Regions from separate parts of the Homo sapiens genome. Here regions 2, 3, 4, 5 and 6 are each linked to region 1. Evidence: promoter capture Hi-C in 16 types of primary human blood cells and fetal thymus (Javierre and others, 2016). All regions are on one chromosome and are shown on one strand. The core of a region is centred on a gene start or on the middle of the fragment in contact, and the rest is flanking DNA. Distances in the headings are between cores, read along the strand shown.

Region 1 (4,186 bases), core at 713-3,212:
TGAGATTTCTGAAATCCGTATCTGAGATGACTAGGTGGAGTCATACATTTCCACCCTTCTGGGGTTAAGGACACAGCCTTAACCATTTAGGGTGACCATTTAGGGTGAAGTCACTGTTTATGGGAGTCTAAACTGTGACTTTGGCAAGGTGCAATATAAAAATGCTAATACATGTTTATGCACTAAGCTGGAAATAATGCCAAGCCCCTCAGTTAAAAAAAAACCTGTCAAGAATTGCAGTTTCCTTGAGTCGGAGGAACTAAGTGAGCTGTTAAATGAGGACTGTAAACCTGCCACATGGCGACGTTGCTTTGGTTATTAAATAGAAATACCTGCTTTCTATATGCATGCACTGTTGTTTACATGCCTCTGAATTTCTAATTTCTGCAGGAGATTCTGGTGACTGGTGTGCCATTTTCTCAATGTTCACAGTTATTATAACTTTAAATATTTTACCCATATCCTGTAACAATGTCATCCAAGTGTTCTTTAAGTGGTGGTGCTGAAAAACGCACCTGAAAATCGATAACATTGGAAAGGAAGTGAGATGTGATAAAACGTTATGAAGAAGGCCAAACCACCGGCAGGAAATGCTGCACTGTTAATTTAGCAGAGAGTGCGTTATGAAATATTAGCGATAATGCCAGGGAAATAAAAAGCAGCATTAAGGCAAAAATATGCCACAATTGGAGTAATGTATGCAACCTATCCTTTCTACTTTGCATTCATTTCTCTGGCAAAATTAGTCAGAAATTATGCACGCTTTGAATTATGCAAGTTTTTCAGGACCACATGCTTTGCATAAAACTCTACTGCCCTGAGGTTCTCAGTGGGTGGAAGAATGAGTGACCATATTCTAGGGTTATCTTAGGCCAGGCCGTTGTACCCTCCTGTCCTAGGTGGGGATGAAGTGACCTCATGTGTAAAATGGGACCGTTGGACTGGCTTGTCTTTCTTTCCTTATTAGACTATGTCGAGACAGGCACCATTATATTTCTGCCCCAAAGGTGTCTTTTTCTGGACGGATCCCACAGCTGATACCAAACTTGTCTTTATTAACTGTGAGGCTGGCCATTCAAACACCAGGTGCCAGAGAGGGTCCCTCACTCATCGGAATCCGGGTGGGATGAATCCTCGGAGGCAAGGTCCCTCCACCTTCACCCTAGAGTCACACAGAGACTTGCCCTGGCGGCTGGTGACAGGTGGGCGGGAGAAGAAAAGGCCCCTGGGGAGCAGGAGAAAGCCAGGTGCCATGGGGACCCAGCGCCGCTGGAGGGCAGCACCAGCACACAGCTGAGGCCGCCTCTCCCGGAGCCCGGAGGGAGCTGGGTTCCGGTCGCCAGCGGTGCCCGGGTGAGCAGTTCACCCTCACGTCCCTGCTCTGACGAAGTTTCCATTCTTCTGGAGAAGACAAAATAAACGTGAACAAATGAACAAGTGTGCATTGTCAGGCAGCAAGTGTTGGTACAAACAAGATAGTGGTGGGGGTGGGGACACCGTTAAATAGGGGCCAGGGAGGCCTAACCCGGGAGGGGATAGCTGAGATGCCACTTGAGTGGAGAAAACAGTCCGAGATCTGAAGGTGTTCATGGAGAGGGGAAGGGGCCCCTAGAGGAGTCGGGAAAGCCTGGGTCAGGGAAGACGAGAAAACTGAGGAACAGAGAAGCCAGGTAACTTACCCAGGGTCATAGAGCCGGTGAGCTGGGGACAGCGCCTGTCAACGCCCCAGAGCCTTCCACGGCACTGGTTTCTCCGACCTTCCTCTCTAAACAGGACCGTGACAGTGACAGTTTCTGCCCCACTCCCCATTTCTGACCGCAGTCCCCATAAGGAAACAGGGCAGGGATCACTGGCTGTGAGCCCAGCAAGTCCCCTCCCGTGGCTTTCTCAGTTATTAAATGGAAGGGTGGGTCCCCCCATAACTCCGAAGCTCCCCTCTCTAAGCGTCCGCGGGCCGGGAACGCCTGAATTCTGGCTCCCGAGCACCTTCTTGTGGACAGTTTTGGAATCACACGCTCAGCGAGAAAGGGTCGTGGGAAAATGGTCTGTGCTAATTTCGGAGAGGCCAGTGGATTGGAAGGTTATCACTGAGGGTGGGTGCACGTGTGTGTGTGTGTGCGCGCACGTGCATGCGTGCATGCATCTGTGTGCCTGTGTGTGTTGGTCTGTGTGTGAATGTACCTCTGTGCGTATCTGTGTGTATGGTTGTGTGTGAGCACATACTGCCCGAGCCTGTGTGTGTGTGAGTGTGTGTGTGCACTAATGTTTGTTTATATGGGCACAGGCACACACATGTCCATGTCCATGTGTGTGTACCTGCATCTGTATTTTTTCGTCTGGTGTATGGGCTTGTTTTTGTGTGCCTGCATGCATGTGCCCATGTGCGTGTGTGTTTTGGGAACTGGGACACAGAGGATGATATGAGAAGTCCCCAGTCTTTCTCACAAAGGCCTAACCACTCTCCCTGAAGCCAGCTTTCTCCCCTACTTGCTTCTGTCTGCACCATCACCTGAGTTCTCCCACCTGAACTTTTCACCGACATTTTTGATGATTTTTCTGTTTTGTGTCCGTTGAGGCTCATTTGAATGTTACAGATCATAGCTCAAGAAATGATTCTCAGGCCGGGCATGGTGGCTCATGCCTGTAATCCCAGCACTTTGGGAGGCTGAGGCAGGTGGATCGTCTGAGGTCAAGAGTTCAAGACCAGCCTGGCTAACATGGTGAAACCCCGTTTCTACTAATAATAACAAATTAGCCAGGTGTGGTGGCGTGTGCCTGTAATCCCAGCTACTCGGGGGGCTGAGGCAGGAGAATCACTGGAACCGGTGAGGCAGAGGTTGCAGTGAGCTGAGATCCCTGGGTGACACAGCGAGACTCCGTCTAAAAAAAAAGAAAGAAAGAAGTGATTCTCCTCTAGTCTACTCACCCAAATCATGAGTTTCACTTCTCAGGTGGGCTGATCACCCACTGTCCTGTTGAGACCTGGGGACTTGTACAAAGTCGTACCCTGGAGGGTTGAGCAGAAAACCAGGCACATAGTAACTAAGACAATGGCGCGTTAGCAAAGCACTCCACACATCCCGTTCACATGTGTGTCTTACTTGACTCACAAACTGATCTTTCATCCTTTTTTTTTTCCTTTTTTGTGGTGAACAGGGTCTTGCTATATTGCCCAGGCAGGTCTCAAACTACCGGCTGATCTTTCAAGCCTAGGCAAGGTGAGGCTAATTATTCCCATTTTACAGATGAAGACACTGAGGCTCAGAGAGGGAAATAATGAAAATAGTACTGCAGGAACCATCTAACCAATATGCAAACTCTCTCATCCAGTTTTCATAACATCATCAATTCCCTTCTTTAAAAGACAAGGAGATGGAGGCTTTAAAAATGTAAGGCGAGTGCTTAATGCCATATAGCCAATCAGTAGTTGAGGCAGGATTTGAATCTCGCTCCAGAGATTAAAGCCCAAGTCCTAAACACAATGGCAGGCGTGAGGGCCCTGGGCACACACTGACTCAAGCTCTTTCAGCCACACACTGTCCCTTTGCCATGCCTCTGGGGTCCTAAGAACATCCTCCTCTGAGCCCACAGGGAGGTCATTCCCCATCCTGGGTGCCCCTGCTCCTCTCCCAGATGCGGGGCAGGTGAATCTTGTAACCTGTGTCACTCTCAGAGGCTGAGATGGGGACTGAGCATTAATTATGCAATAACCTCGCTGTGGTGTGCCTAATTGTCTGATAACCATAATTGAATCTTATGGATTACACCAACATTATTGCAGGGAGCAGCTTAAGGCAGTTAACAGAAGCTGCACTCACTTTGTGATATCTTCCTCCTGTCTCCTTGCTGGCTGGGCTGTGAGTCCTTTCCTGGGGGCTGAGGGAGGCCTCGAGGTGCAGGGGGCAGGCAGGAGGTGAGTGACAGCACAAATGTCGCATCACCTTATCCCCCCGAGGGCACCATCTTCCTGGCTGAGAAAAGTCTGTGTGGCAGGTGGAATTATCATTTTGTAAATGAGAATGTGGCATCAGAAGGCTGAGAGACTCTCCCAATTTCAGTCTTGCTCATTGCTACTGGTCCTTGCTAGCATCATCTGGGACTGTTTAGACGTGCAGCATCTCAGCTGGGCTCGGTGGCTCACGCTTGTAATCCCAGCACTTTGGGAGGCCAAGGCGTGTGGATCATG
Region 2 (4,186 bases), core at 464-2,963, 440 kb after region 1:
GCCTGGCAGACAAGGACCAGCAGCATGACTTAGTTGAGTCAGGGAAGGAAGGGGGTGTAAGAGACCTAATGTCATGATAATCATTAGCACTGAAGCTTCACTATGTACCGAGCTCTACGGAGCCGGTGCATTTGCTCATGCATCCTCCCCACAAATCTCTGCTTTGCAAACACAATTACTCCCATTTTATAGCCTCAGAGGGGTTGAGCCACTTGGCCAAGGCCATGCAGCCTGAAAGTGGTCTAGCTGGGACTTGAACCTGCACCTGTCTGACTCCAGCACCCAAACTCATCCTCACTATTCCAATTAAAGGCAGAGCTAATACTAAACCCCTGAGATCCCGTCTCGTGGCCAGGACTCTCTCCATAACCCTGTCCTTCTCTTGCCTTTGAGGAAAGCATACTTCACTGTCAGTTCTTCAGCCTGGGTGGCAGGGATGAAGGCAGAAGTTAAATAATAAAGAGGAAAAGGTTTTTTTCTAGAAATCAATGACTAAAGACTGGGAAGAGAATTCCTAAAACTCAAGTCAAGGACTGTCTCCTTTCGAAAACGGTGTGTACGAGAACATACGGCTCTCTGACCATCCACACAGACTCATGAGAAGGAGAGGAAGGACACCTCTCACTTCTGAACACTGCCTTGAAGCTTAGAGAAGTCAGATGTGACTCCCGAAGCTGAGCCGACATTCCAGGGCTCCTGGGAAATGTATCAAGTTGTGTGCAGTAGCATGGCTGCCCCACTATCTTCTGACTTTTGATGCATGGCCTGCCATTAGGGCACAGGCCTGTAGTGTTATCACTGGGGGCTGGGCTTTGGGGTACATGGAGAGCTTCAGGAAGAGGGAGGATGAAGAGTAAATCTGGGTTTCCTTCCTTAGCCTTGGTTCCCAGCCTCCCTCCTGCCTCTAGACCCTGGCATCCCCATGCTGGGTGTCAGTTTATCTCTTCTGTCCTGTTTCCTTCACCTGTCCAAACCCTTCTAGTCATCAAGGCATACCACCCCCAACCCCAGTCTCAAAGCTGCCACCAACATTCTCTCCAGGCCTCACAGTGTCTCTCTGCCCTCCACCCATTTGCTCATATAGTCTGGAGATAACAGAGGTCAGCATTTGTTCAGCAGAGGGAAAACACAGGCTTTGGCATTAGAAAACCCAGGCTTGAGTCCCTGGCCTCATGTTGGCAGGCTGCATGATCTTGGATGAATGACCACACCTCCCTGAGCTACCTCAGCCAGGCTCAGGGCTAGCTCAGGGTAGCAATGGTGAACAGTCCCTCCCTCAAAGAGCTACTGTTTTAATCTTCCCATCTGGAAGATGGACGTTGTAACAACCACTTCTCTGGCTGGTTGTGAGCATGAAGAAAAGAGGCATACAAGGAACTACTTTTGAATTTCAATGTTCCATCCCAGTTTTATTTTCCCCAACAGTTACTTCACGGTTGCCTTGTTTTTCTCATCTGCAAAATGGGGACAAATGCCTACTTATTTTAGGCACATTCCAGCAGTCTAGCAGAGCAGGAGGCATCACAGACTGTGGCTGGGAGGATGGTCTCTGGGGTCATTCTAACTGGTTTTTCATCTTGGTGCTGCTTTTTCCTGCCTTTGGGACCCTGGACAAGTTATCCAAGCCCTGTGCCTCAGTTTCCTAATCTATAAAATGGAAGATGACTGTGTCTATTTTCCAGAGTTGATGGGAGACTCCTCTATTTCCTTTGGGTGGTGTAACAAATTACTATAAACTGGGTGGCTTATAACAACAGAAAATTACACACTCACAGTTCTAGAGGCTAGAAGTCTGAAATCAGGGTGTCGGCAGGGCTGCACTCCCTCCAAACGCTATAGAGAAAATCTAGGCTGGGTATGGTGGCTCACACCTGTGATCCCAGCACATTGGGAGGCCAAGGCAGGTGGATCACCTGAGGTCAGGGGTTCGAGACCAGCCTGACCAATATGGGGAAACCCCATCCCTACTAAAAATACAAAAATTAACTGGGCGTGGTGATGTGCATCTGTAGTCCCAGCTACTTGGGATGCTGAGACAGCAGAATTGCTTGAACCCGGGAGGCGGAGGTTGCAGTGAGCTGAGATCGTGCCGCTGCATTCCAGCGTGGGCGACACGCTGTCTCGAAAAAGCAGCGAGACTCTGTCTTGAAAAAGCAGCGAGACTCTGTCTCGAAAAAAAAAAAAGAAAAAGAAAAAAGAAAATCTATTCTTGCCTTTTTGTGTTCCTTGGGTTGTGGCTGCAGAACTCCAATCTTTGTCCCTCTGTCTCTTCTTCATGGATCCCTTATAAAGGCACTTGTCATTGGATAGAGAGCCCACCTAGATAACACAGTATGACTCCAACCCAGGATTCTTAATTATATCACCAAAGATCAATTTTCCAAATATGATCATATTCACAGGTTCTGGGCATTAGGACACAGATGTATCTTTTGGGGGCCACCATTCTACCCACTCTAGAAGCCAAATAATGAATCCATGTAATGGGGTCAGCACAGAGCCAGGCACACTGGAAGTGCTCCATTGATAAGAGCTACTACTGTTGCACATCTAGAAATTGTGCCTGAAGTTTAACTCTAGAAATTGGACCCACACAAGAACAGAAACCCAAGTGTAGAAAGATTGGGTCCTTCTGTCCCTGTAGGCCTCTAGGGCTGTTGGCCCAACTTGTAGCACTGCATTTCCCAACTTAACCAGACTGATTTCAGCTTTGAGATTCCTCAAATTCTCTCTCTGTTCTGAACAGGCTTTTGTTGAAGCCCCTTATTATTGCAAAGCTTGCGTTTTGCTCCATTAAAAGCAGTCTGAAGGTGACAGCCAGTCAGAGGTTGAGAACAGGGTACCTGGCAGGAGGGAGAGAAATGTCCAGCCAAGGCAGTCCTGATGGCTCAGCCTCATGTTGGATCTCAGGCTGAAGTCAGTTTGGTTGCATCAGGGAATGCCAAGCATCAGGTTTAAGGGTCAAGGCAGGTTTTCACTGAAAAGAAAGGAGACTGCTTTCATCCTGAGTGAGAGTCAGTTCTGTGGCCGAGCTGGATGGGGTGTGTACAGGTGTTGGGGTGACATCTGGTTGGAGAAAGGATAGGAAAAAGAATGGCCTGGGTCGAGGAGAAGGGCAAGGAGGCTGCAAAGGTGGAGAGAGACCGAGGGAGCCCAGACTTTTCTTCAGACTTTACAGCAGCTTTGTGGAAGAGAAGGACCACAGGACTGCTCAGAGCCTCAGTTTTCTCAGCTGTGAAATGGGATCACAGTGGGACCTGTGCCTTCAGGACTTAGCACATTGCAAGTACACAGGCAGTGCTAAGTGATGCCTATTGATACTCCCACCAGCATCAAAAGGAACAAAAGGGCAGCCAAGGCCCTTTAGGGGTGACTGGTTCAGATCTAGGCAGCAGAAGGACCTGATCTCCAAGCTTGACCTGCCTGTGTCTGGGCTGGAAATGAAGCCAGAGGGGCAAACTTACAGTGTGCGGAAAGCAGAGAGGGGAGGTCTTTGTGCTGATGGAGAGTTGGTTCTTAAACCCCACAAAGCGTGTTCTGTTCCACAGTTTACGGGCTGGCAGTATAATTAGAAAGGTAATATTTTATAACTGTTTTGTGACCCTATTTTTACCCCCAGAGAATCCCAGAAATAACTAGTGGTCAGGTCCTTGCCAGAAGCAACATCAATATGGTGTCATTGTCCCTGGACTGATGGAGCTGGGTGGTCACCCTGGGATGGAGCACTTTTCCCCAGTATTCCCCAGCTCTGCACAAAACTGACCCAACAGAGAGGAAAGTCCACACCACCTTCCCCAGGCTGGAGGCCATTACCACACCAGCTTCTGAGACTCTCCTCCCCTTGAGGCCAATCTTGGCTGGTCTGAGCTTTATTTTTCAACAAAGCTGTTTGCTCACCAAGATGAAGAAAGAATCCTTGAGTTAAGAAGCAAGTATAATTTTAACAGCTCTTCCTCTTGTTCCATGAGTTCAGAATGACTTTGGTAGCTCCCTTTTCTGGAAAACTTCCCGCTTGATCCAGTGTAATTATCTTTTTTTTTTTAAGTTGAGAGGCTCAGATCACTCTCACAGCAACCTCTTAGTTCAATCACAGTGAACCTGCAGAACTCAAAACACAAAGAGAATGTCTTAAAGCAGTCAGGGAGAATAGAAGATCATTTTAAAGGAATGACAATTCGACTGGGAC
Region 3 (4,186 bases), core at 1-2,500, 420 kb after region 1:
AAACCTTGCTGATCATCTTGTCTCTTACTGCAAACTTGTTTTCCATTTTGAAGAGCAGTGGGATGTTAACGCTCTTTCATAGGGAAATGTCTTTTGTGAAAGTGGAACAAGAGGCCAGCTTTAGAAATGCATCAGGGCTTCTGCTTCCAGGAAAATGGAGTAAATGTACTTTCTCTTCTTCCTCCCACAAAGTGCAACTAAAACCCCTGGGCATTATACAAAAAACAAACATAAGAAGACTTAGAAAGGTGGAATGACTAGGAACCTTGTGATCTAAGGAGCACCATGCTGGCAAATTTTCTGGGTTTTCCTTTGCCTCATATATTCCAAACCTAGAGCTGAGGAAGCCAGTGACCCAGTAATGCTAACGGCATCAGACAAAAAAAAAAAAAAAGTCCCAAGAAAAGCCACCTTTCTTAAGATAAAGGACTAAGAATGGGGCAACTTAGCAAGACAGAAGGCTTTTGGACAATAACTGCTTGACTCCAGCCAAAGACCACCAACAAAACAAACAAAAAAGTACTTCCCCTGTATCTGCTGATATCTATCTAAATGTTTGTAGAGGAAATATTTAAGACAATTATAAGTGGGAGAAGGTAAAGGGATATAGAGGATGGTAAAAATTTCTCCACTGCATTCAAATTGGTAAAATGATGACCCCAGAGAATGCGATATTATGTATATATTAAATGAAATACCTAGAGCAACCACTAAAAAGAATATACAGAAAGACACTCAAAAACACTAGATAAATAAAAATGAGATTCAACAAAAAAGTTAAAATAACTCACAGGAAGGCAAGAAAGAGAAAACAGAAATGAGAATAGAAAATACAAAATGGTAGACTTAAACCTTAACATATCAATAATTACATTAAATGTCAATGGTCTAAATACACCAATTAAAACACACAGATTGGCAGAGTAGAGGAAAATGATGACCTAGCTACATGCCACCTGTAAGAAATTCTCACTTCAAATTTAACAATATAGGCAGATTGAAAGTGAAAGGATGGAAAAAATATATCATGCAAACAATCAAAGTGGGAGTAGCTATATTAGCATCAGATAAGGTAAATTTCAGGGCAAAGAAAATTACCAGAGATAGAGAACAATGTGACAAAATGATAAAAGGGTCAATCCATCAAGAAGAAATATCAACCCTAAATGTGTACACACCAAATAACAGCTGCAAAATATGTGAAGCAAAAAATAGATACGTTAAAAGGAGAACTGGACAAATCCACACCCCTCTCTCAATAATTAATGGGACAGCTAGACAGAAAATCAGCAAGGATATAGAAAAATTCAGCAACACTATCAATCAAAATGATCTTATCAGCATTCATAGAATGCTCCACCTGACAACAGAAGGTATGTTCTTTTTAAGTGCCCAGGGAACATACTCCAAAAATCGACCACATTCTGGGCTATGAAACAGACTTTAACGCATTTGAAAGAGTTAAAATCATACCAAGTGTGTTCTCTGACCACTGTGGAATCAAATTAGAGAACGGCAACAGAAAGATGACAGTAAACTCACCCAAACAGGTGGAAACTAAGCAACACGTTTCTAAATATTCCATGGGTCAAAGTGGAAGTCTCAAGGGAAACAAAAGAATATGCTGTACTGGATGAAAATGAAAATAAGCATATCAAAATTTGTAGAAGAGAGCTAAGCAGTGCTGAGGGAAATTTATAGCACTAAATGCATAGCATACATTAGAAGAAAGGAAAACTCTCATCAACAATCTTAGCTCCCAACTACAGTACCTAGAAAAAGAAAAGCAAATTAAACCCATAACAAGCTGAAAGAAAGAAATAATAAAGAGCAAAGTCAAGAAATAGAAAGCAATAAAACTATTAAAGCAACTAAAAAAAAAGAGCTGGTTTTTTGAAAATATTTTCTAAAGGATAAAACTCTAGCAAGACAGACAAAAAAGAAGAATATTAGGTAACATTCTAATATCACCAATATTAGGAATGAAACAGAGGATATTACTACAGGTTCTCCAGAATAAGCAAGATAATAAAGGAATACAGTTGACCCTCTTCAGGAGGATGAAGGCACACACTCTCAAGTCAGGCTGCCAGATGAGCCATTACAACATGGCATGTTGTAATGAGGTAACATTTGGGAATGATGGATATGTTCATTATCTGGATTATGGTAATGGTTTCATGAGAGTATACATATGCCAAAACTTATTAAATTGTATGTTTTTAAGTGTTCAGCTTATTGTAGGTCACTTAAATAAAGGTTAAAAGAAAGCATTATCAAATCTTAATCTTTGCCATATGTATTTATTTCAGATTCTCCACTTACAAACACAGATCATTTTTTTATCCCAAACCTATTTTCCCCCATTTCCTATATATAAGCACTAGGAAATTGAATTTGGTGTTTTTGATCCCCACGCATAATTTTCTATATTAGTGCAGAAGTCTTTATAAACATTATATAACATAGTTTTGTATTACTTAATATTGTACATAAATGAAGTATCTATCATTCTGTAATTTGCTTTCTTTGTTTAACATATTTATGAATAAATTACATAACTTTAACAAAAACTTAAGGGAGGTATTATTACCATTTTACAGATGGAGAGAGAAACTGAGGTTCACCCTGATTAGGTGAACCATTTCTTGCCAAAGGTGATTATGAAGCCAGGATTGAGCCAGGTCTGACCTGGGTCAAAGCCAGAGCTTTAAACAGTGACCACAGGTACTTTGGGGGAGATTTTCCTCAAGGGCTCCCTTGTTTGTGCTTCCTGGGATTGTCATGAGCAGCACCCTTCCAGGCAATTTGCTCTTCTAGACTGTTCTAGACCACACTGGTTTGTCTGGCTACCTGGCATTCAGGTTGGGTCAGGCATTGCTTTGCCATATCCAGCTGTACTTTGCCGGGATCAAAGATAGTACCTTTGCCCTGCCTTGCTCCTTCTATTAATACTACTCCCTGGTCTAAATAAGGCCTGCCTTTTTTTGTCTAGATAGGGCTTCTTAACCTCTTTCATGTCAGGGATACCTCTGGCAGGGAAGCCTAGGGGCACCTTGGAATAAAACTTTTTAAATGCTGAAGACACATATGATTACAGCCTTATTGAAATACAAAATATATTTTAAAATGGTGATTGAATCATACATATGCTCCTTTTTTTTTTTTTTTGAGATGGAGTCTCCCTCTGTCACCCAAGCTGGAGTGCAGTGTTGCGATCTCAGCTCACTGCAACCTCTGCCTCCTGGGTTCAAGTGATTCTCCTGCTTCAGCCTCCAGAGTAGCTGTGATTACAGGTTCCTGCCACCATGCCTGGCTAATTTTTGTATTTTTAGTTGAGACAGGGTTTCACCATGTTGACTAGACTGGTCTCGAACTCCTGACCTCAAGTGATCTGCCTGCTTCAGCATCCCAAAATGCTGGGACTACAGGCGTGAGCCACCATACCTGGCCGATATATGCTTCTTTATTTATGCTTTTATGTTACAAGGTCTAATAGTGGATCTAATTGCCAATTTTGCTGCACAGATGAGCCTGAGCTTGATTTCAACATATCTGTAGCAACTGTAATACATGAAAATGTCGGTGATTTCTATTGGTGACAATGAGGACTGATAACATTACTATGGTTTGTTGCCTGCTTTCCAAACCAAAGTGCTACATTTCGGTTGGAAGTTAGCAAACATAGATATATTTTTCCTCATTTGAGTTCACAGACCCCTGAATTCCCTCCACAAACATGTTACGGGTCCGTGGACCCCTGGATAAAAGTCACTGGACTAGCACCTTCCCAGAGAACCAGGAATTAGAGGGGCTTGGAAGCAGCTGGTTTTTGGGGCAGACAGAAAGCTGGTCCCAGGGTTCCGTGTTTTATGTTAACGACAATCATCTCTCCGTTTTCCTGATTAAGAGCTGCTGTGGAGCCTCATGCACTATTTGACTTAGCCAGGAACTTCAAAAGCAGATGCCTGACAAGAATAACTCTTTACTCTTAGATTTAGGGCAGAGCATGATAACAAAGTCCTGAGCAAAGCTTTGCAAATGTTCAGTTTTCAGTGATGTAGTATAATTCTGCGGGGCATTTGTTACAAACACATTTTTTTCCAAAGAAAATTGTTTTATGGCTTAATGTGAAAGCAACTCTCCTAGCAGACTCTCGCCTGCCTCACCAAAGCCCCTTGCAGGG
Region 4 (4,186 bases), core at 677-3,176, 380 kb after region 1:
AGACATTGACAGGTTCCTATTTCTTCTCCATCTGTATGGTTGGTACACAAGTGACCACACCTATGTGATGAAGCCTCCATAAAAATCCCTGAACGACAGGGTTTGGAGAGTTTCTGGATTGCTGAACACACGGAGGTCCCTGGAGGGCAGTGTGCCCAGAGAGGGCATGGAAGCTCCACGCCTCTTCTCCCTTACCTCACTGTAGGCATCTCTTCCATCTGGCTGTTTCATTATTCTCTACATTAGACACATACACTTTATATGTGCTTCTTCATATTTCATAACAAAGCAAATGAAAGAAAAAAATCAATGAATCTTCCTTTTACCATTAAAATTATCTGATGAAATCCATGGACCCTATTCCCAAACAATTAGAAAAAGATCCAGACATTTCATTTGAATGCAGAGGGCTCATAGACCCCTTGAAGATCCTCTATGGGAAGATTCCACATCTGGTGTTACAGTTGATTTACACCCCCGTAAATCCCTGAGGCAGTGGCCATCTTTATCCAGAGCAGCAATGTGGCCCAGGAAACAAACAATCTGGGCTGGGATGGTCCAGTGACGTCAGAACCAAGCCCGCACCCCTAAAGAGGAACTCTGCACGTAGGCAGATCCCCCACAGCCAACCCTAGCCCCCTTTCCTCCCTACTTGGAGCATTTCCAGCTCCCAAGATCCCAGGATCCTCCCTCTGCCTCCTCCAGGGCCACAGCTTTGGCCATCACATCTAGCTGCTGGGCCCTCTGCAACATAAAAAAGCATAATCCTTTGGGGAAGAGGAGTGTAAGGAAACACCAGAAGGTAGCTAATTACTTGTGTTACAAATAGTAATCTTGCTTTTTAAACCTTAGGAAGATAATGATCTGTTTTTAGTGTATTAAAGCTTAATTGTTTAAGTGAGGGAATAAAAATCAGCTTCAAAACAGGGGGAGCCTAGAAGCAGAAGAAACGTCCTTGGAAGCAGTGTTGTGAGCTAGAACGAGAGGACTCGCCATGTGGCTTCGGGGAAAACACTTCCTCCCTCTGGGCTTCAGTTGCCCATCTGTTCAATGGAGGAGTTGCACTTCTAGAAGATGCCTAAGTCATCTGCACTCCTGATGTCGCAGGGTTCTCTGGTCACCAGCTTCATTTCTCTCTGCTCTGGAACTGTGCCAGACAAGCATGGAGGCTTCCTTATAACCCAGTGCCTGACACATGGTAGGTGCCCAACTAATAGTGTTGTTGACTTGTACTGCGCTTACTCTTGTTCCCTAGTCCTCACACAGCCTATCACAGACACGAGCCTTTAGCTGGTCCTCAATACTGCTTTCCTCACCTCTAAAATGGGTAGAACCATGTAGGGCCAATGTGAGAATTAGATAAAGTATGTGCAAGCCCCTTGCCCAGTGCCTAGCACACACTAGGTACAATTTAAATGGTTCCCATCTTTTTTGTCCTTGTTCATCATTCACCTGAAAAAGTTTGTCTGTTCTGGCTAATCCCGGCCTGCTCCCTACAAACAGAGACACACGCACGCACACACACACACACGCAGACACATACTCTTTCTCATGGAGCAGCTGCTTCCTCCCCAGGACTGACCATCATCCCACTGATGTCCAGACAGTGCTGGGCAGCCAGGCACTGACTAGGCCAGTTACTGCGGATGGTCAAGAACTGCTGGTGGAAATGGAAGGCTAAGGCTCTACACCTCTCTGGATTCCCCAAGAGCCTCCGTGTGTTAGACACAGCCACCAGGGTGACTGGGGCCCCCAACACCTGCACAACACCACATCTCCCTCAGGCCAAGGTCCACAAATGTGAAGTCAAAAAGTGAGGGCGATTCTGACTGAGGAGTGTCTCTTGGACGGTGTTGGCTGTTAAGTAAGGTCAGAGGTGGGGGATAGGGAGAGAAGGCCAGAGAGAGAAGAGAGGAGGAAGGAAGAGGAAGAGGAGAAAGGTGGAAGGGAGGTACAGAGTGGAGGAGGAAAGACAGAGACGGAGGGAAGAAAAGAAGCAGGAGAGAGAGATGGGGCATAGAAAGTGGAAAAGGGAACTTCAGGTCCTGGGGTGAGGGCTTTGGACACATTTGAATTTTAAATCAGCAGCTTCCCTTGGCCTGTCCCCCTGATTTGGCCTGGTTCTAGGAGGCTGATCAAGAAAGTGAATCTCCTATGACCTCCATATGAGACTGATTGTTGGCTGGGGCTGCCCACTGCTTTTCTCACACTCAAGGAGAGACCCACACTCAGTCTCCTGGGGTATAGACCACTGAAGCCCAGGGACCAGGGCTCCCCATCTGAATGGTCAGAGGGAGGCTGCTGCAGCCCCAGCCCCAGCCCCTGCCAGGTGGCCCTCCCCATATAGGCTTCCGGGTGGTCACTGGGATGACTGTCACCAGCCCTGGGCACCGAATTGTCCCTTGAGATTTTTCTACACCCACCCAGATCTTTGGAAATAGTCCTTTTAAAAACTCCCTTCCAATTACCCAATTTGAATGAGCTTGTTTCCTGCCAGGACCAATCTGAAACAAACACAGAGTTTATAATCCTCATGTTAGCCCTGCTTCCAGGTCATCCCATTTCCAGATAAGGAAACTAAAGCCCAGAAGGTCAGAGATGGGGAGTGACTTGTCCGAAGTTGCGCAGCTAGGGGTTGGGGAGCGGGGACTGGAACCTGCCCAGCTGGGTGTTTACATTGCTCAGGCTTTAGAGAGACCGGGTGGTTCAGCAAAGGTGGACCAGGCCGGAGGTCAGGAAGGACTAAAGTTAACACTGCCCCTGCCTGTCTGGGTTCTCCTTATGCTGGAACCTCAGAGGCAGCCAGGAAACCCGCCTTCCTCACTCCCCACATCCACTACCCTCTACCCTCTGTGCCCACAACCAGTGCCTGAGGTCAGACACTCTCATTCCCTTCCTCGTGGGCATGGCCAAAGCCTCCTGGCCGGCCTCCTGCCTCCATCAGCCTCACTACAGTGGGAAAAGCTTTTCTAGAGGGATCTTTCTGGCTCACTCTGACGCTCCTCCTTCCTAGGATCTGTCTCTGCATCCCTAGTGCCTGTGGGACAAAGTCCAAAATCCTTTGGTATCAGAACCCTTCCCAGCTGGCCTTCTACACCTTGCAGTTCGGCTGTGCCCTGCCCTTCTGCACCTCCATGCCTTTCGGCAGACCTTCTCCACCCCCGGCAGCGCCCTTCGGAGTCCTCTGTTCCCCATCAATGTCCACGTGTCCCTCAAGATCCAGCCAAAGCGTGGTGCAGGGGAGGGTCTCCTTAGTTCTGCCTCCACCCCGTCTCCCCTGCCCCCGACACACACAAAGACCACCCCTCCCACTGTTGTCCCCTCGCAGAATCTGTGTTCTTGCTTCTGGTGCAGTATTTTTTTTCCTCTGCTGTCTCAACTCCCTCAGAGAATGAACCATGGCTATACATCCAGAATAATCCATGGCTCTCCGGGCCTGGCATCATAATTGCATTGTGTCTTTCTCTCTTGCCATGGCACAAGCTTCTGAAGGACAGGAATGTATCTTCATCCTCCAGACCTCCAGGCCTGAGGGCAGGGCCTAGTCCCCAACAGCGCTAAATACATTTTCCCTAGCTGAGCCACTGAGGACGGGTGATCCTTGACTGCATGAGTGAGGAGTCTTTGGGCCTGTGGCTGCTGTGCAGCCTTGGGCAAGCACCTGAGTCTCTCTGTGCCCATTTCCGTTTCCTTACGTCTGGGGAGTAAGATCTGCTGCTTGCTCATAAACATTTAGCTATCCTTTTCCTCCCTTTCCTCAGAGCCCAGGCCCTCTCGGAAGGGCTCAGACACTTGTATTTTATGTGTATCCAGCGCCTTTAGAAAATTCTCCTCTTTGGGTTTACTAAACCCTTCTGCAATGGCTTTATTCACACTCAGAGGAGAACTGGCTGGATCACGGAGGCACTGCTGATGGAGCCTGGGCGCCCCCATTGCATACCCATGTGAGTTCTCTTGTCCTCTTGTCAGTCAAGGGCTCCAGCTCTTAAGCAAGCGTGATGGACCACAGGAACCCCCAGGCCCTTGGAGGCATCCTGGCCAAGGTCTCCGCACCCTCCAGAAACCCAGCTGGGGGCATCCTGGATGGGGCTCTGCCTCTTCATAGAAACATCAAGCAGGGTTCAGGGCAGCCGACATCATTCTCCTCTTGTGATTCGCTTTTCCCTGGTGCCCCCGCCGACCCACC
Region 5 (4,186 bases), core at 1,204-3,703, 360 kb after region 1:
GCATTGGGACCCAGCACGTGTAGTTTATAAATCTCCACAGGTGATACGGTTTGGCTGTTCCCCCCACCCAAATCTCATCTTGAATTGTAGCTCCCATAATCCCCACGTCTCATGGGAGGGACCCAGTGGGAGGTAATTGAAAGACGGGGCAGGTTTTCCTGTGCTGTTCTCGTGACAGTGAGTAAATTTCACAAGGTCTGATGGTTTTATGACAGGCAGTTCCCCTGTACAAGCTCTCTTGCCTGCCACCATGTAAGATGAGCCTTTGCTCCTCCTTCCTCCATGATTGTGAGGCCTCCCAGCCATGTGGAACTGTGAGTCCATTATACCTCTTTTTCTTTATAAATTACCCAATCTCGGGTATTTCTTCATAGCAGTATGAGAATGGACTATTACACCAGGTGTTTTTAAAACATAGCCAAGGTTGAGAACCACCTCATCCTCCATAAAACCAGGCCAATCATTCCTTTGTCATTATGAGGAATTTTTTTTAAAAAGCAGAGCAGCTAGTATTTATTGAGCAATTACTATGTGCTCAGCACTTAGTCTTCCTTAACCGCCATAGCAGTCCTATGAGGTAGGTATCATTAGTCACATTTAACAGATAGGGAAGCAAGCTCAGAGATAGGAGTAAACTTGTTCTGGGGCGTTTAGCTGTAAGTGGGCAGAGTGAGGGTTTGAACCCAGGTCTGTGTGACTCCAAGGCAGGTTGACATTTGCACCTGGCACATGGTGGGCCTTTGTCCATATGGGCTATTTTCTTTCTTTTCTCAAATATACAAATAATGATAATCCCAAGCAGGACAAGTGAAGTGTTTTTTGTTTTTTGTTTTTATTTTTAATCTGGGCTACAGACCAGACCAGTGGTAGGCAGGGATGTCAGTGAGGTGGTGCAGTGCAGCCCACCTGGAAGGTGTTGGGAGGGCTGGGTGAAGGAGTGGAGGGGGCATTTGAACTGGGAATTTAAAAGCCACTGAAGGTCTCTGAGAAGGAAAGTGATCAGACCAGAGCAGGAAAGAATCAGCAGGGGAGGGGAGGTAAACAGGAGGTGGTAAGCCCAGTCGGGAGGTTACTGCAATAGTCCAGGCAGGGAGGAGGGGCAGGCAGGTGACAAGCTGCACACAGGGCCATACAGGCATCCAGGGCAGCCCCTGCACCCAGCTACCTTTCTGCTGGAAGGCCGTTTTCACAAGGCAGCCGGAAGCACTCCCGGGTAATCTCGTCTGGAGATGACTGCATTTCATTATAATTTAAGCCTTTCTTGGGCTTCATCAAAGGCTATGAGTGTCTTGAAAAAGAGAAGCATCTCTTTCCTCAGGTAAGGGGAAAACACGCCAGAGCTTTCTCTTCTAATATAAACTAGACAAGGAGATGCAGCTGAGCTTGGCAGAGCCTGCCGGAGAACGCTAATAGACTCGACGAGGGAAGAATTATAGAAAGAGACAGCTCCAGAGGGTGGTGGGGCAGGAAGAGAAAGAGGCCCCGAGACTGCCAGCCCCAGGTGGGCTAGTAAGGAGCTGGATCAGTGTCAGCAGATGTGGCCCGAGGGCCTGCATAGACTCAGCATCTCATCTGGCGAGAAGCTTCTCTGCCTGGAGACCAGAGAGATAAGACCCCTCGCCCCTAGCATCCTTCCGGCTGGTTTCCAGTGATCCCATTAATTATGGAGGCTCGGGGACTGGAGTGGAATCCTTAGCGTTTCCTGTATGGGAGCTCTCAGTGGGGGAGGATGGAAGTGACCTAGAAACATTTAGCCCGGGGAAAAAAATAACCCAAGCAGGTTTGACACTCCCACCTGAGGCTGGGAAGGGGTTGGGGGCTATCATGTGTATATGAGTGTTTTAAGATATTATCTCAGACAGTTTGATGTCCCATGAAACATTAAGAAGGTGTTTTGCTTTTTAAAAATCAGATTATTTTCCTTTTGCCTTTAATAAAAACCAGCACTGGTCTCTGACTCACAGGCTTAAAACAGCCTTCACTGGTTACCGAGGATGGGATTTCAGCAGTGGCACAGGCTGGAACGGTTCTCAAATAGGAAATCGAATACTGGGAAGACAAAGGAGGGGAGAGGGAAGAGGGGAGGGAGAGGCAGAGCAAGAAATAAATTTGGAGTTAATGCTGAGTGAGGGAGGGCTTCACTGCTGGCTCCCCGGGTGCTCCTGAAAGGCTGCTCAGCCCCAGGAGTGAGCAAAGCAGGAGTTCTTGGCTCCATCCTGGCAGCCCATTTGTCCCCTGCCAGCCAGCCCTCCGGACCACAGGGCTACTCTTCCCAGCTTGTGAGGGAAGCGTCCTCTGTATCAGAGGCCTTTGAATCTTAAGCAAATGCCCTGTCACACAGGAGAGAGGCTGTAACCTCCCCCAGGGAGGGCACGGTCACTCAGAGTTGATATGGTGGCTACAAGGCTGATGGTCACCAGTCATCAGGGCCTGGGAGGCAGGGTGGGAGGCAGGGTGGGAGGCAGGGCAGGAGGTCAGGTGAGAGGTGGGAGAATGGGGAAGGGGGAAGGTGAGGATTGTAAGAGAAGGTGGTCCCTGCTCTAGTCTCTCTCTCTTTCTCTCTGTGTTTGCCTTGCTTTGTCTTTCTCTTCTATCTTCCTCTCAGTCTCTGGATCATTTTATCTTATGGTCTCTCTCATTCTTTGTCTCCATCCCTCTTTCTCTGTCTGAATCTTTTCCTCATTTCAGAAAAATGGCTGAACTTGTTAAGCCAGAGATCAAACACCCCAGCGGGCTGAGTGCGGACAAGGGAACACGGCTTTAACATCTGCTGCTCTCTTTCTGTGCGACACAGAGGGCTCCCCACAGAGAGGAAGGGCAGGGAGGTGGAGGCGGGGTGTGGGTGAGAATTCCTGCAAACCTTGGCATTGTCCTGGTCGGGGGTCGGGTTGGGAGGGGTGATAAGGACAAGGGAAGGGAAATCGGACAAGAGACAGACCCACATGCTGACCAGGGTACTCACAGACAGACAGGGAAGGCCCCCACCTCGAGGGAGGAAGCAGATCCAGTGAGGGCCACCATGCCCCAGGGGAGTCAGGGGCTCTGAAGCTGCTGCCTGACAACCTCTGCACTTTGCACAGAGTGAAAGGAAATTTATAGGAGTGAAGGACGTGGACTAAAGCCCTCTGAACTAGCAGCATTAAGAATGTCATTTCAGCAAGTCCTCCTAACAGCCCTGCCAGGGTACTCTTCCTGCCCTAAAGATGCGTGAAGTCACCAGGCCAGGAATGTATGCAGTGCCCCTGGCCAGGGAGGTGCAGGGCTGACTCCTTGGCCTGCACTTTTTCCAGCCATACTTATTCCTGCAGAAGATGGAAGCTTGTCTTGCAGCAGGTTCAGAATAAAGGCAATTGGGTGAGGGCGCAGCCTTGGTCTGAACCTAAAGGGAGAAGATGGAGGGACAGAGGGTGTCCAAGCCTGCTGAGAGGACCTGCCCTCCAGGGTTGCCTTTCAGAGGCAGGTTGGGAATGTAGCTCCCTGGGCCCAGGCTCATTCTGAGAGACAGGTCATTCTGTTGCTCTGAGGAAAGGGAAGGGAAGGAGGAAATGAGAGAGGGAGAGAAAGACAGGGAGAGAGAGAGAAGCACAGTCTTCCCACTTCTTTCTGCCCTCTTCCTGGAATGCGGACCTGCCAGTCGCCAGAAAGAAAAGAGAATATTTGATCAATCTATTGAGCTTACTGTGTGCCTGTGCCAGGCATGGTCACAGACAAGCTCTTTTCTCACCATCACAACAATCCCATCCCTATTTTACGGAGCAGTAAACTGAGGCAAGAAGAGCTTAAGCAATTTGCTCAAGCTCCCAGAGCTGGTAAGCAGCAGAGCCATGGTCCTCATGCACAGCCCCCACTTGCATATTTTCCTGGGCCCCAGTTCATCTCTCTCTCTCTCTTCTCCAAACATAAAGCCTGGAGCAATGAGCAATGCAGGCAGGCCCTGCTAGGGCAGTGCCACAGGGAGAGGAGAAGATAGAGGACAGAGCTGGCCCACACACAGTATCACAGCAGCCTGCAGAGGTGTCATTTTTAACAGCAGCAGCCTGTCTATGCCTCTCCTCTGCCAGCTCTCGATGACATCAGGCCCCTTCTCCAGGGAGCATGACTCAGGTCGAGTGCGATTGTGGTCAGTGGGGCACACGGATAGGTGAGGTAGGGCTGGAGGAGGGGACCAGGGAGTCTGCTGTAGCGT
Region 6 (4,186 bases), core at 702-3,201, 340 kb after region 1:
ATACAGATTATTTCATCACCCAGGCATTAGGCCTAGCACCCATTAGTTATTTTCCCCGATTGCCTCCCTCCTCCCACCGCCCCCCGCCCAGCCCTCCAGTAGGCGCCAGTATCTGTTGTTCCCCTCTATGTGTCTATATGTCCTCATCATTTAGCTCCCACTTATAAGTGAGAACATGCAGTGTTCGGTTTTCTGTTCCTGCATTAGTTTTCTAAGAATAATGGCCTCCAGCTCCATCCTGAGTGTATAATTCTATAAGGTCAGGCAGGATCTACCCCACTTCCCCCACCCCCTCCCACATCATCCCTCCCCTCCCCTCCCTCTCCTTCTGCTCTGAACTATTCTGTCTTTCCTCTAATTGTTGAATCTTTTATAATTACGAGCCTTTAAAATTTCCTGGTATCATTACATTGGTGCATGTGAGGCACACAGGGCCTCTTTCTGCCAAGGGGCTCACTTGGGAGCTGGCTGAGCTATGATCAGAGCTGGTGGGAAGCCCCTCCTACAGATGCATCCAGGAGTCCCCCATGAGAATGGCCACTTGTACTTGATGTTGTTAAACTCTGCCAGGGGAGACTAGAACTGTGGGATAGAAAATGTGGGAAGTGAGGGGTATGGGTGAGGTGGTCAGCCCAGCCCATAATCAGGCTAGGAAAAACCTATTGAGCAGATCTTCTTCCCTAAATGACTTTCCTCATGTAAAATTGTCTTCTATGATTGTCAGAAAATGCATTTTTAAAAGAGGTTAACATGGGATTTAATGAATATAGAGTAATAATGGTCCTTGTATCAAATTAAAATTCTAAGGCTGCCAGATGAAACAAGTACATTATGAGTATCCAACATTATGTATTATTATTATTGGACTGCTTGATTGCCCTACATACTTAGGAATAAAAGAAACAGCTCCAAGTCCTGCATTTAAATTGGCACACATCTCCCTTGGAATAAGAGTCTGGGAGGACAAAGAGCATGCCCACTGTGCAAAGGCAGATCCTGGGATCTTAGGAAATATCCTCATGATAAAGCAGAAGGACACAGAACAGATAGATGGCAGAGTTTTGTGAAAGCAGCACGAAGGAAGGGTATGTCTGAATCTGTATGCTGTGTGACTTTGGGCAAGGCACTTCACCTCTCTGAGCCTCCATGTCTCCACACTTAGTCTGGGTAAAGGACAGTGGTGAAGATAAGTTGAAATTACAGGCATGAGAGCACTTTGTAAACTCTGGCCGGGTGCAGTGGCTCACGCCTGTAATCCTAGCACTTTGGGAGGCTGAGACAGGCGGATCACTTGAGGTCAGGAGTTCAAGACCATCCTGGCCAACATGGCAAAAACCCATCTCTACTAAAAATACAAAAATTAGCCAGGTATGGCGGCGAGCATCTGTACGTGGGAGGCTGAGGCTGGAGAATAGCTTGAACCCAGGAGGCGGAGGTTGCACTCCAGAGATGGCACCACTGCAGCCTGGGTGACAGAGCGAGACTCTGTCTCAAAAAACAAGCAAACAAACAAACAAAAACAAAAACAAAAAGCACTTTGTAAACTCTAACAGGCTGTTGAGTTCTGAGGATTGAAGATAATTCTAAAAACCTCGCTTTGTTGATGTCTTCCCTCTTCCTACCCTTTCTTGACCACTGAAGCCTGGATGCCATCTATAACATTTAATAACAGCAACCTGCGTTTACTGAGCACTTACTAAGAGCCAGGTATCATTTCACCCAGTTCCACCATAGCTTTATGTGGTAAGTATTATTATTAACTCCATTTTATAGACTGGGAGATGGAGGCTCAAGATGACACCTAAGTTGCTCAAGGCTCAGGGAGTGGCAGGGATTTAAATTCAGGTCTTCCTGACAGAAAACCTCTTAGTTCTTATGCTATATTTGCTTCTACAATATGTCTGACAAGCTGCTTCCAAATTATGCTTGAACTCCTCCAGGGACAAGGGGCTCATTACCACCCCCTGTCCCTCTCCCCACAATAAGTGCTCTCCCCTGACACATAAAGCATGATTATGGTGATATTATTATCAGTAAAATGGAGTGATTGGAGTGGATACTCTCTTTAGGTCTATTTCAGAACGTCACTTTAAGAGCGTGAGCATTCACAGACAAATTCACACTGGCTACAGAAGAAAGGATTAAAAATCTCCGTACGAAAATGGAACACAGCAAGGAAGAGGTGTGTGTGAATGGAGGCAATTAATTCTCTTTTGCCAATCGCTGTTAAAAAATATATATATTTGCTGGAAAGGAGGCATTTATTCCCTGCAGACTCATGGTGTGATTTTGAAATATCTCCACAGAAGGAAAGATGACTGAGGAAATACAAATCTATTAAATGTGCAGGACAAAAGAAAAAGGGGCTTCCATAAAAGGATTTCTAAACCATATCAAAGGCTTCAGAGGTCAGGGAGGGTTGCCGGAACACTACCAATTAGAGCTAAATGGGAAACCAGCTTAAATCTCAAAATTAAAGATGAAGAGCCGCAATTAACCTGTCTCCTAACAGAAAACATAGCCCTTAATGCTCAATGTAATTTAATATTTTAAAATTACGACCACAAGCATCGAAGACTCCTGTTCAACAATATAAAGTGGACAATAAAAGTCTCAGTGGGGCTTTGGATATCGTGGGTGAGATGGCACAGGAATAATGCTGGTACCGATGGCTCTGAAGCCACAGAAACTGAACTGGCAGGGACACAGTTAGAACTCGCCTCAGGACGCAAGCACCAAGCCTCAGCTCTGTTTTCCAAAGACCCATTCTCTGGCCAGCAGGAATCATTTGATTTGTGTTCTGTGGGCTTTAATAGGATGGAACACGCTGATGTGAGTGGAAAGGAAACCCCCGGCAGTGCTTAGGGGGTCTGCAGCATATTCCAAGGGATTTCTTTAAAGCGGTGCTTCTTTTTGGGGAATTTTTATGCCTGGTGGGGCAAGGTGGCTTATGTCTATAATCCCAGCACTTTGGAAGACCAAGGTGGGCTGATCACCTGAGTTCAGGAGTTCGAGACCAGCCTGAGCAACATGGCAAGACCCTGTCTCTACGAAATACAAACAAATTAGCCAGGCATGACAGTGTGTGCCTATGGTCCCAGCTACTCGGGAGGCTGAATTGGGAGAATTCCCTGAGCCCGGGAGATCGAACTGCAGTGAATCATGATTGTGCTACTGCACTCCGGCCTGGGTGACAGAGAGAGACACTGTCTTAAAAGAAAAAATAAATAAAATGCTTAGTGCCTGGGCCTTCATGCAGACTAGAAGGCCTGGGCATGAGTATTTGTTAAAGCTCCTATGTTAATTTTCATTGGTGCCCAGGGTTGGGAACTGCTGCTCTAAAAGATTAGGGGCCCAACAAGGAAAAGAAGATTGGCATTTGGAACGTGGCAAGCCTTGATGATACCAGAATCAATAGCATGGTACCTGATGTGCGAGAGCAAGTGTGCAGGTAAGAAAGTGGGTCCAGGGACAATTTTTCTCCTAGCAGGCAGGAGAATAGGGAGATGAGCAGGACAACCATATAGAAGTCAGCCCCTTCTCCGTAGATATAAAACCAGTGGCTGACAGCCCGGATTTCCAGGTTGCCAATTAATATCTGTGGACACTTCAAATGTGTGAGACCCCATTTGGTGGCTGGCCTGCCCTAAGAAGGCTAAAGTTGAAATGCCCCTCTTGAGTTCTCCAAGTCCTTGGGGCTTGGGCCAAATTAGCTTCCCCTTCATTCTCTATGACTCTTTTCGCATTACCTGGGTGATAGTGTGGAGTACTGGGAAGGTGAGTGGCCCTGTGGACAGACTGACTGACAGACAGACTTGATGCCTGTACCCACCACTTACTGAGGGATCTTGGGCAAGGAATTAGCCTCTTGGAGGCTGTTTTGCTCTACAAAATGCAGATCGTGATAGGCCTCATGGAGTTAGCATGAGGAGTCCGTGAAATGATCCTGGCAAGCTGCTAACATGGTGCCTGGCCCACAAAACCACCTCTGTGCTGGGCACTACCTAACGCCCCTCCGTGGACCCGCTGTCAGCCTCAACCACAGAGGTGCTCCTCCTTGGATTCCCCCCAGGGTTTCCAGCCTCCATGCTTCTGCCCCAGCAGGTCTCGCCTCCTGGAGTACCTTCCTCATCATTCCTTCCTGTCCAATCCTCCACCATCTAACCTGATGCTGGGTTAGGCTCTA

What was found. Contacts are between HindIII fragments. The CHiCAGO score rates a contact against its expected background, and 5 or more counts as called.
Region 2: a fragment that was not itself captured here is called in contact with the fragment with the promoter of LINC02716 in region 1 in 2 of 17 cell types (endothelial precursors and fetal thymus); the score reaches 6.2 in endothelial precursors.
Region 3: a fragment that was not itself captured here is called in contact with the fragment with the promoter of LINC02716 in region 1 in 7 of 17 cell types (endothelial precursors, M1 macrophages, M2 macrophages and 4 more); the score reaches 14.6 in endothelial precursors.
Region 4: a fragment that was not itself captured here is called in contact with the fragment with the promoter of LINC02716 in region 1 in 6 of 17 cell types (endothelial precursors, M1 macrophages, M0 macrophages and 3 more); the score reaches 9.3 in endothelial precursors.
Region 5: a fragment that was not itself captured here is called in contact with the fragment with the promoter of LINC02716 in region 1 in 3 of 17 cell types (endothelial precursors, M1 macrophages and M2 macrophages); the score reaches 9.8 in endothelial precursors.
Region 6: a fragment that was not itself captured here is called in contact with the fragment with the promoter of LINC02716 in region 1 in 1 of 17 cell types (endothelial precursors); the score reaches 6.2 in endothelial precursors.

What each region holds. Positions count from the first base shown.
Region 1 is chr11:45,769,208-45,773,393 of GRCh38, reverse strand. LINC02716 (long intergenic non-protein coding RNA 2716) reads right to left here and starts at 1,962. Exons shown (of 2, transcript NR_027134.1): 1 at 1,680-1,962; 2 at 1,036-1,401. RefSeq lists an enhancer at 1,769-2,270. The HindIII fragment of the contact is 20,811 bases long and covers 1-4,186 here.
Region 2 is chr11:45,327,855-45,332,040 of GRCh38, reverse strand. No RefSeq gene overlaps it. Among named protein-coding and RNA genes, the nearest start is that of LINC02696, 25 kb to the left of the region's middle. The HindIII fragment of the contact is 2,132 bases long and covers 648-2,779 here.
Region 3 is chr11:45,347,633-45,351,818 of GRCh38, reverse strand. No RefSeq gene overlaps it. Among named protein-coding and RNA genes, the nearest start is that of LINC02696, 5.6 kb to the left of the region's middle. RefSeq lists an enhancer at 4,008-4,186. The HindIII fragment of the contact is 5,570 bases long and covers 1-4,035 here.
Region 4 is chr11:45,392,984-45,397,169 of GRCh38, reverse strand. No RefSeq gene overlaps it. Among named protein-coding and RNA genes, the nearest start is that of LINC02687, 24 kb to the right of the region's middle. The HindIII fragment of the contact is 2,080 bases long and covers 887-2,966 here.
Region 5 is chr11:45,409,648-45,413,833 of GRCh38, reverse strand. No RefSeq gene overlaps it. Among named protein-coding and RNA genes, the nearest start is that of LINC02687, 40 kb to the right of the region's middle. RefSeq lists enhancers at 1,386-2,047, 2,048-2,708. The HindIII fragment of the contact is 1,735 bases long and covers 1,586-3,320 here.
Region 6 is chr11:45,426,854-45,431,039 of GRCh38, reverse strand. No RefSeq gene overlaps it. Among named protein-coding and RNA genes, the nearest start is that of LINC02687, 58 kb to the right of the region's middle. The HindIII fragment of the contact is 4,489 bases long and covers 1-4,186 here.